Regions from separate parts of the Homo sapiens genome. Here region 2 is linked to region 1. The links are contacts of gene promoters, found by promoter capture Hi-C in human tissues and cell types (Jung and others, 2019). All regions are on one chromosome and are shown on one strand. The core of a region is centred on a gene start or on the middle of the fragment in contact, and the rest is flanking DNA. Distances in the headings are between cores, read along the strand shown. Region 1 holds the start of MLLT11 (MLLT11 transcription factor 7 cofactor). Region 2 overlaps PIP5K1A (phosphatidylinositol-4-phosphate 5-kinase type 1 alpha).

Region 1 (5,413 bases), core at 1,689-4,188:
GAGCCGAGATCGCCACTGCACTCCAGCCTGGGCAACAAGAGCGAAACTCCGCCTCAAAAAAAACACACACAAAAAAACGAGATAGCAGGGTGTGGTAGCATGTGCCTGTCATCCCAGCTACTGGGGAGGCTGAGGCAGGAGGATCACTTGAGCCCAAGAGTTGCGGCTACAGTGAGCCATGTTTGCACCCCTGCACTCCAGCCTGGGTGACAGGACAAGACCCTGTCTCAAATACAAAACACACACACACACACACACACACACACACACACACACACACAGAGGTTTTTTTTTTTTTTAACAGCCTTGAGATGAGATCACACAAACACTCAAATGTAGCTTCTAGGGGAGGGGAGAACCCAGGAGGCTGGGCTTTCTCTTCTCTTCTCACCACTGGAAGGGAGGAGTAACCAGAAGGAGCGGAAGCTAAAACACGCTGTCCAGAGAGGGGAGCTGTGGTCAGTGGGACGTCAGTGAGTCAGTCATAGGGTTTGTCCTGATGGTGGTGGTGGCAGGTGGTAAGGGTTGGGGAAAAATGAAGAATTAGAGGAAACCCCCAACACCAGCAGGCAGGCTGTACTGTGACTGGACTCTCCCTCAACATCCCCCACTCTGCTCAAAGCTGAGGGACAGAGGTGGATAGTGCTGGGAGGGAAGAGAAGAGAGGGGGAGGAGAAGGAGAGAGGGAAAGGGGCAGTGGAGAGAACAAGGCCATTTCTGTTTCTTTTCCAGGGACCTGACCAGAGCTGGGTGGAGGGAAAGCGTGTGTGTGGGACTTGGCATGAAATGACCAATGATGACGAGAAGTGACCAGGAAATTCCATTCCCTAGGACATTAGGGTCTCTGAAACTTGAGGGTGGGGTCAGAGTGTGAAGAAGACAGGTCAGGGTGAATGTGATGGTAGCGCAGGGCAGTGGGGGATGGGAACAAAGCCAGAAAAGGAAGTAAGAGCCACTGGCGGCCACTCTTCTTTAAAGCAGCCAGAAGAGAGTGGGTTGAGGAAAAATGAAGTCCTGAGCTGGTCAGCCCAGGCGGAAGAGCCACCCGAATCCAACCCCACAGTGAATAGGGAAGGGGCTGAGAAAACAACAGGAGGGATGAGGATTAGACCTCATAAGGCCACGTCCTGAGAGCCAAGTGGTGCTCAGAACTCGACCTCTCTGAGTTCCAAATGGCAAGAGTGAAATATGGAACCGGGAAAGCCACCCCCCGCCCCCACCAAGATCATACTAGGACTTGAGGGTCTCAGAGCTGTTGGGAGGTGAGCAGAAGGGATGGGAAAGAGGTGCCAGGGAGGAAGGATGTACAGGCTAGTTCTCTGGTCCTGTTCGGGCCCCAAACCGGTTCTCCCGGTCCCACCGCCTCTGGCCCTAAGGCCTCCAACCCGCGGCCTGACAAGCCCTCACATGAAGCAGCTGGAGAGAAAGAAAGAATCGAGAGAATGGCATGGGCAATTCTGGCTAGAAGCCCGGGGCAGCAGCTGGTCCCTGTGTGGAGACCCCGAGACATGGAGGGCTGCTGAGGGACTCTGGAGAAGCGGTGTGGACTCCATATTTCAGCCAAGTGACAGGCCCAACACCAACCTTCCCTTCCCCAGGAAAGGTCTTCTGGGGGCTTAAGAGGAAAGAGGGCTAGGCCCTAAGCCTCCCCTCCCCAAATATATTCAATCACACAGATTCCGTATCTGTCTCCCCCCACTACACAACTCTACCTAGAAGTTCTCTGCTGTTCTCAACCCTTAACCGGACTGGGACCTCTCTGGGAATCTTTCGGACCCTCTCCCTCCCACCTCCCCCAACATTCCAGTTCCTTCTTTTCCTTCTACTCTTCAGCGGCCTCAGCCTGCGCACCCCAGGAGCGTGGATGACTACGGCCACCCCGGGCGCGCACCCCTTTCCCACCACCCCAGCATCTCTGCAGCCCAGGACACCCGCCTCCCCCACACCCCGCATCCGGTGTGTCTCCGCCTGGCCCGGCCGGCGCGGCAGGCGGGCCAGGGGACCAACTGCACGGCCTCACCTGCTCTTCTCCACCATCCAGACGTTCAGCTACAGCTGGTGGGGGTGAGGGACTCTGCTCCGTGGCCGCCAGTGTGGGCTTCCCGGGCTAGCTCTGCGGCGAGGTGGGGGAGCCGAGTACGAGCCGGCAGAGGTGGGGCCGGCTGAGGGCGGAAGCGGCGGCGACGCGATTACGAAACCCGTCCGGCTCGGAGCCCGGCGCACTGCTCCCCTCTGGACTGCGGAGGCACTGCACTGCGCGGGACGTGGGAGGGTGCCTCTGCAGCCCCTCAAGGCCGCCGCCCCTGCGGGGAGAACTGGAGAATGCGGACACCTAGATGAGGCCCTGGCACCCAAGCTGGGGCCCCCGGAATCTCACGTTCCCTTTACTCGCCAGGCATTTCGGGGCAAAACGAAGCGGAGCCCCCCAAACCCCCAGACCTAACCAAGTTCAGAGATTCGCAGAAGCACGCCCCCCACCCCAAATTTATTGTGCTCTACCCAAAATGGAATAGGACTAGGTTTATTTACCCATTGTGAGGGTAGAGAGGCGAGTCTGGAGGAGCAGGGATTGGGAGAAGGGGTGGAAAAATACTCTGATTCTTAAAAATACTTTGTAACCTAAAGTCCTTAAATTGTGGAAGAAAGGAATACTCCTCCTTTCCATTGTAGTCTAGAGTTAAGATTTCAAATCCATAAATTAGAGGACCTAAAATTAGAGGGCAATTAACTGCTCATTCATTGGGCCCCCAGTCAGCACGGGGGTGCTGGAAGAGATCGGGAATAATAGCGCAGACCAATGAGCCTAGGGAGATGCTTTCATCGTCTCTCCTTCCCTCAAGTGTTCTGGAACCTATCATTTGAATTAGCCGAGTCAGGCAGGAGGGGGCGGGGAATCCTTCCGCCCTTCTTAGGAGGGGCTGCATTGCAGGGGGAGAGTGAACTGACAGACTCAGTCACTGAAGAGGGAAAAGGAGTGAGAAGACAAAGCCGTCAAAGCCCCAACAGCTTTGTATTTCTCCAGCCCGGCGCAGACCCCGGAGCTCCCGAGGCACTCCCTCCATCTTTGGAACACGCCAGTAATTGATTGATAACAGGTAAACCAAACTGAGGGAGGGGGCAGGGGGCTGCAAAGATAGAAGAGCGGCTGCTTATGGTTAGATTGAAAGACCCCACATGAGGTGGGGGACAGCTGAAGAGGAGAGAAGGGGGCGCTATGAACAATGGGTAGTTATTTCTTCACAGCATCCATGCCTTGTTACCTTATACAGACCATTAATCTCTAACAATTTACTTGTAGTTATTTCTCAGCACCTACCTCATTTCAAGTATCCTTTTCTGTAATTTATTGTCCTGTGTATTTAATATCTTCAGTCTACTTATCTTCCTTTTCAAACCATAATTTGTTTTACCAGCTGTTTAATTTTTAGTCCTACTGTATCTCTCTGTCCTCTACTTCCCTATACTTGCAATTTTTTTCTGTAGTGTTCTATGTTTCTCTGTAGGAGGGAGTTTGGGAGGGGGTTATATGGGATAATGTTGGGTGTAATCCTGACCTTTCTTTGGATAATCTCTTTCATTCCACCTCGAATCTTTGCTCCAAAGAAAGAGGCAGCCTAGGGTAGGAAAGGTGGGGGCCTCTGTGTTGGAGAACTGCCTGATTCCATAGTGAAATCAGTATAGCCCACAGGAGCTAGGTATGGGGACAGATTCTGGAAAAGAATGATTTGCAGCTCAGTGGAATTGGTGGAGGAATGCTAGTAGGAAAATCCAAGCTCTGACTGAGGCACACATTATGAGATGTCAGAGAGGTTCTGCTCCCCTCTACCACCACCACCACCTTGTCCTTCCCCCTTCCCCATGGTGGCAGCATGACACAGCAAGGCCCTGTTGAGTAGGCCTTGGATGCCCACAAAGGGTCTGGACAAAGGATATTTGGGCGTGTCTGTGTGGCTCCGAGAGTGTATCTTTCTAATCTATACATTTGCTAATCATGTATCTCTAAGAACAGAGTGATAATTAGATATTGCCTTTGCCTAAAATACCCGGATAATTTAAAGTGAAGGATAGTGGGAAGCATTTATTGAACATATATTGTGGTACAAGGCACTGTCAAAACCCTTTAAGTAAATGATACCATTTAAGATAATGAAAGATGTAAAGATAGATGAAGTAGGGCTGGAGAGCATTTGTGGAGGGGAAGGGGAAGCTAGCCAAAAAAGGATCTTTTGCGAAATTTGGAGTATTTGATAATTAAATCCATACTATATTAAATCAAAAATGTCATTACTACTTACATTAGTGAATAGCATTTTAACTTCAATTTTCTGTGTAGTATTACTTTATGTTCTTGACTTGATTTTAATGCCACGTATGTTTGCATGCATGTCTTTCTTGAATGTATTTGGTACCCTGTGTACATGTCTCTGGGTCAATGACATAGAGATTTTAGGCCTTTTGAGTTAATATTTCATAAAATTTGCTTTAGCTTTTTAAATTGCAAGATAGCTCTACCAAACACTCAGGGACTGTTTGAGCAGTTTTTTATACATACTCTGGTTGTAAGAAAAGGAGTCAGTTTGTCGAAGAGCTTTTTTTTTTTTCTCAGATTCTAGCTTGCTCTACTGCCCTTTGCTTTTCCCCATTCAGATCACAATTACAGGAACAATCACCTAAACCACGGAAAATCTATTCTTCAGCAACTAAAAATTCTTTTAAGTTTTGGGAATACTGGTATAGGGTTATATAAAGCTGTTGGCAACTATCCATGTACAACACAAAAAGGGATCAGATTGGGAATTATGAGATCTGGATTCTATACAAACTGGCTGGAAGTCTTCCCAAGTCATTAATTTCTAAGATGTCTTCTAGTTTTAAAATTCTATGATTTTTTCCCCCCATGATTCTATTTTTTTTTTTTTTTTAAGATGGAGTCTCGCTCTGTTGCCCAGGCTGGAGTGCAGTGGTGCAATCTTGGCTCACTGCAACCTCCACCTCCCCAGTTCAAGCGATTCTCCTGCCTCAGCCTCCCGAGTAGCTGGGATTATAGGCGCCTGCCACCACACCTGGCTAATTTTTGTATTTTTAGTAAAGACGGGGTTTCACTATCTTGGCCAGGCTGGTCTCGAATTCCTGACCTTGTGATCCACCTGCCTCGGCCTCCCAAAGTGCTGAGATTACAGGCGTGTGCCACCGCGCCTGGCCCCATGATTCTATTTTTTAAAGAGCCTATAATGTGGCCTGCATTATACTAAGCTCATTCTGGAGAAGACTTGTCAGGTAGGATAGAGAAAAGAACCCAGCTAGCTGTGAAAATAACTGGTAACAGTAAGAATCCCTGTAGCCACAAGTCCATAACAGTATTGACTCCTAGGTATGCTTCTTAGAATCTCTATAGTCCCAGATTTAAGCAGTG
Region 2 (5,265 bases), core at 499-2,998, 170 kb after region 1:
GTTCCTTCTAGCTTCCCCTTTCTGAATTTTTATTGTTATGATCCTACTTATACTAGGAATTTTCTTCTCATTTCTCTTGTTTCTCAGACAACCTCATCAGCCTTGAAAGGTGCCATCCAGTTAGGCATTACCCACACTGTGGGGAGCCTGAGTACCAAACCAGAGCGTGATGTCCTCATGCAAGATTTCTACGTGGTTGAGAGTATCTTCTTTCCCAGGTACAGAGTTTAATGTTCAGGAGCATGTCCTGGAAATGTGGCCTTTTCAAATCAGCCCAGGGCAGTTTTAGGGGTTCAGGTCGGACAATTTAGACATGTGTCCATTTCTTAACCTGGTTACAATCAGGGCGATGTGGGACTAGAGAGTTCGGAGAGCAGATACTGTCCTCTAGATGCTTCCATTAGCCTCTGTCCTATGGATTGACCCGTAAAAAACAACCTAATGCATTGGATAGGAGGCAGTGTGATTTCTTCTTCTTCTTATGTCTTGCTGTCCATGCTGTGCCATTGTCTCACTAACTCATCTAAGAAGGGCTGTGATTATCTTAGGAGGAATGTATTCCCCCACTCCCCCCACCATGAGGTGACTCTGAGTGTCTTCGCAAGGTAGATTCTCTGGATGATAGGGACTGGCAAGTTATGGCTACCTCTGTTTAACCCCACAGTGAAGGGAGCAACCTGACCCCTGCTCATCACTACAATGACTTTCGTTTCAAGACCTATGCACCTGTTGCCTTCCGCTACTTCCGGGAGCTATTTGGTATCCGGCCCGATGATTACTTGGTAAGCATCTGGATATCAGGACACTGTGACTCCAGTATCAGAGGGATATTCCCAAAGGAAGGCCCCTTTTCTCCACAGTCTCGCTCTGGTTTTTATTTAGAAAAGAATTGCATCTGTAGTTGATTTTTGTGTTGGGCAAGGCCCTGATGTGTCTAAATCTCTTAGTTCTTCTCTGTTTGCCCCAGTATTCCCTCTGCAGTGAGCCGCTGATTGAACTCTGTAGCTCTGGAGCTAGTGGTTCCCTATTCTATGTGTCCAGCGACGATGAGTTCATTATTAAGACAGTCCAACATAAAGAGGCGGAATTTCTGCAGAAGCTGCTTCCAGGATACTACATGGTAAGGGAGAGAGAAGCACTGTCCACCTGTGCTGCTCACTTCTGGGCAAGGCTGGGGAGGCTGTCTTCAGCAGGGTAAAACAGTGTCAGCACTTCTATCTTAAGAGTGTAGTTCAGGCCAGGCACGGTGGCTCATGCCTGTAATCCCAGGACTTTGGGAGGCCGAGGCAAGAGGATCACAAGATCAGGAGATCAAGACCATCCTGGCCAACATGGTGAAACCTCGTCTTTACTAAAAATACAAAAAATTAGCCAGGCGTGGTAGCGGGCGCCTGTAGTCCCAGCTACTCAGGAGGCTGAGACAGGAGAATGGCGTGAATCTGGGAGGCGAAGTTTGCAGTGAGCCGAGATCCTGCCACTGCACTCCAGCCTGGGTAACAGAGCAAGACTCCGTCTCAAAAAAAAAAAAAAAAAAATGTTGTTCAGTTTTGTGCTTTTCACCCCATTTCTTTTGCCTCTCTATGGTAAAAGGGGTTTTGTTTATCTGTTCTGTTTTAAGTGTTGTTGATCTCCCAGGCTCAAGTGATCCTCCCACCTCAGCCTCTCACGTAGTTGGGACTAAAGGCACGCACCACCACACCTGGCTAATTTTTATAAACTTATTTTCTTTTATTTTTTCGTGACGGAGTCTCGCTTTGTTGTCCAAGCTGGAGTACAGTTGCACAATCTCGGCTCACTGCAACCTCCGCCTCCCAGGTTCAAGCAATTCTCCTGCCTCAGCCTCCTGAGTAGCTGGGATTACAGGCATGCGCCACCATGCCAAGCTAATTTTTTATTTTTTAGTAGAGATGGAGTTTCACCATGTTGGTCAGGCTGGTCTTGAACTCCTGACCTCATGATCCGCCTGCCTTGGCCTCCCAAAGTGCTGGGATTACAGGCGTGAGCCACCGTGCCCGGCCTAATTTTTATAAATTTTTAGTAGAGATGAGGTCTTGCTATGTTACCCAGGCTGGTCTCAAATTCCTGAGCTCAAGTGATCCTCCTGTTTGGCCTCCCAAAGTGCTGGGGTTACAGGCATGAGCCACTGCACCTGGCTATTTTCGTCTTCTGTTCTTAGTTCAGCTTCTAGTTTGGGGAATGAGGTAGGTTATTTCCCTTGGTAATACTCTCTGCAGCCTTACTCTGATTGCTATTGGAGGTTCTGGAGAAGTTAGGTAACTCTCCTTACCTGCCTTACCATCCCCAAGAATATACTATACCCAGGGCAGAGAGTGTCGTCTTCTCTTAAATCTCTCTGAAGAAATATATCCATCTTATATTGGTATCCTGGCTGATTTCTGTATTGGAGAGTCTGTGGCACAGCTTGATGGTGAACTTACCATTGAAATAGATGCATAGGGAAATGTAAAGCATATATGATGTAGGTTTATGGACACATTGTGTCTAAATCTCATATAGGAGATAAAGGGAGGATGGGTGGTAACTTTTACTGGTGAGTTTCACTGAAAATCAGCTAAGTTGTTCTCCTACTTCTGTTTCCTTTTGTGTTCTCAGAACCTCAACCAGAACCCTCGGACTTTGCTGCCTAAATTCTATGGACTGTACTGTGTGCAGGCAGGTGGCAAGAACATTCGGATTGTGGTGATGAACAATCTTTTACCAAGATCGGTAAAAATGCATATCAAATATGACCTCAAAGGCTCAACCTACAAACGGCGGGCTTCCCAGAAAGAGCGAGAGAAGCCTCTTCCCACATTTAAAGACCTAGACTTCTTACAAGACATCCCTGATGGTCTTTTTTTGGATGCTGACATGTACAACGCTCTCTGTAAGACCCTGCAGCGTGACTGTTTGGTGAGTTTGTTACTTAGACATCAAAAATCTCAGTTACTAAAACAGCTTGATTGTTCTTAGGCATTAAGTTTGTGGGAGATGGAACTCTGTTCCTTAGCACTGTATGTCCTGGGCTGTATTTAAAATAAGTCTTAATTAGTTCATTGCCATTCCTTTACATTTTTACTTTCTCCCCGTTTATCCTCCCACAATGGGATTTATTTCCTTCTCTAGCTAGCCTGGGCCTCACAGTCAAATGTTCTGCTTATTTTCATACCAACATCATCCTTCCTCAGATTTTGGTCCTGGCTGCCAAATCCAAATTTATATTTTGGAAGCTGAGTGCTGCTGAAGAATATTACACAACCGTGTATACTGGCATCTACAGAATTATGATATCCAACCCCACTTGGGCTTTCAATATCGATCTTCAGTCCATTTGCTGTTGCTCTCAATAGGGATTTCAGATGTTTGGCATTCTAATCAAACCATTTTCTGACTCTCATCTCCCTAGCTTTGTTTCTCAACAAGCTACCTTAACTTTTTATCCTATTTCATCCTCTCATGCTGCCCCTGTCACCAATGGATAAATGTATCTACATTTTACTTTATTTTTTATTTTTTGAGATGGAGTTTCACTCTTGTCACCCAGGCTGGAGTGCAATGGCACGATCTCGGCTCACTGCAATTTCCACCTCCCAGATTCAAGCGATTCTCCTGCCTCAGCCTCCCAAGTAGCTGGGATTACAGGCGCCCATCACCACGCCTGGGTCGTTTTTGTATTTTTAGTAGTGACAGGGTTTCACCACGTTGGTCCCGCTGGTTTCAAACTCCTGACCTCAAATGATCTGCCTGCCTTGGCCTCCCAAAGTGCTAGGATTACAGGTGTGAGCCACCGCACCCGGCCTAGATATCACTCTTGACCTCTGTACTCTTCTGTCATGTGAACACTTCCCACTGTTGCACATATTAAACTGTATTGTGTTTATTTTACATTTGTATCCCTTTCTAAATGTATAATGTCCTTGAAGACAGAAACTCTCTCTTTAATATCTTTATATCTCTGTAAGGAGGCACAGTGCCTACATGGTGGAGATTCAGTAAATGTTTAACTGAATTGAAGCTAGTCATACAAGGTCCTACCACAGATCTGTTCTGTCACAAAGTGTACTTTACCAGAACCTCATTGTGGAATCTTCACAGCACAAATATGTATTCCTTGTTCTTTTGAGAAGGTAGTGTTCTCTTCATGGAGACATACATGGAAAGAACAAAGATGGTCTTGTGGGCTAGGCAGTGGGACTTGGAAAAATTATATTAACTCAAATGAGAGAAAGCTAAGGGTATGTAAATAAAGACTAACCAGGCCGGGCGTGGTGGCTCACGCCTGTAATCCCAGCACTTTGGGAGGCTGAGGCAGGCAGATCACCAGGTCAGGCGTTCGAGACCAGCCTGGCCAACATGGTGAAACCCCAACTCTACTAAAAATACAAAAATTAGCTGGGTGTGGTGGCACGTGCCTGTAATCCCAGCTACTTGGGAGGCTGAGGCAGGAAAATCGCTTGAACCAGGGAGTTGGAGGTTGCAGTGAGCCAAGATCGCGCCACTGTACTCCAGCCTGGCGACAAAGCAAGACTCCGTCTCAAAAAAAAAAAAAAAAAAATTTAGCCTTACAGGTTCACTGTAAGGCTAAATTAAATAATTACATCATGAAAGCTGTCAAGCCAGGCGTGGTGGCTCATACCAATAGTCCCAGCACTTTGGAAGACTGAGATAGGCAGATCCCTTGAGCCCAGAAATTAGAGACCAGCTGGGCAGCATGGTGAAACCGTCTCTATGAAAAATAAAAAATTAGGCAGGTGTAGTGGTGTGTGCCTGTAGTCCCAGCTACTTGGGAGGCTGAAGTAGGTGGATATTTTGAGCCTGGGAGGTTGCAGCTACAGTGAGCCGAGATCACACCACTGCACTCTAGCCTGGGTTACAGATTGATACCCTTTCTCAAAAAAACAAAAAAATTGTGAGATCCTGAAAAATATTTTTATTTCTTCCAAGGCTCAGATCATGTTTTTTTCCTTCCATTAGGTGCTGCAGAGCTTCAAGATAATGGATTACAGCCTCTTGATGTCAATCCATAATATAGATCATGCACAACGAGAGCCCTTAAGCAGTGAAACACAGTACTCAGTTGATACTCGAAGACCGGCCCCCCAAAAGGCTCTGTATTCCACAGCCATGGAATCCATCCAGGGAGAGGCTCGACGGGGTGGTACCATGGAGACTGATGACCAGTAAGTGGGCTCAGGGCCACTAGGGGGGAGAACATAGGCCCACAGCACTTTTCTTTTCTTTTTTTTTTTTTTTTTTTTTTAGTTT

Evidence for each region. The method cuts DNA at HindIII sites, captures the fragments that hold promoters and counts their contacts. A contact is called where the count stands out against the background at its distance.
Region 2: a fragment that was not itself captured here is called in contact with the fragment with the promoter of MLLT11 in region 1 in 1 of the 25 tissues and cell types used here (pancreas).

Annotation. Positions count from the first base shown.
Region 1 is chr1:151,057,459-151,062,871 of GRCh38, forward strand. MLLT11 (MLLT11 transcription factor 7 cofactor) reads left to right here and starts at 2,939. Exons shown (of 2, transcript NM_006818.4): 1 at 2,939-3,095. It overlaps CDC42SE1 (CDC42 small effector 1), which reads right to left and starts at 2,164. Exons shown (of 5, transcript NM_020239.4): 1 at 2,021-2,164. RefSeq lists silencers at 502-561, 572-621 and an enhancer at 2,485-3,076. The HindIII fragment of the contact is 8,370 bases long and covers 1-4,511 here.
Region 2 is chr1:151,231,584-151,236,848 of GRCh38, forward strand. PIP5K1A (phosphatidylinositol-4-phosphate 5-kinase type 1 alpha) reads left to right here. Exons shown (of 16, transcript NM_001135638.2): 5 at 88-218; 6 at 665-782; 7 at 968-1,120; 8 at 2,614-2,913; 9 at 4,975-5,180. Among named protein-coding and RNA genes, the nearest start is that of PSMD4, 21 kb to the right of the region's middle. The HindIII fragment of the contact is 7,660 bases long and covers 1-5,265 here.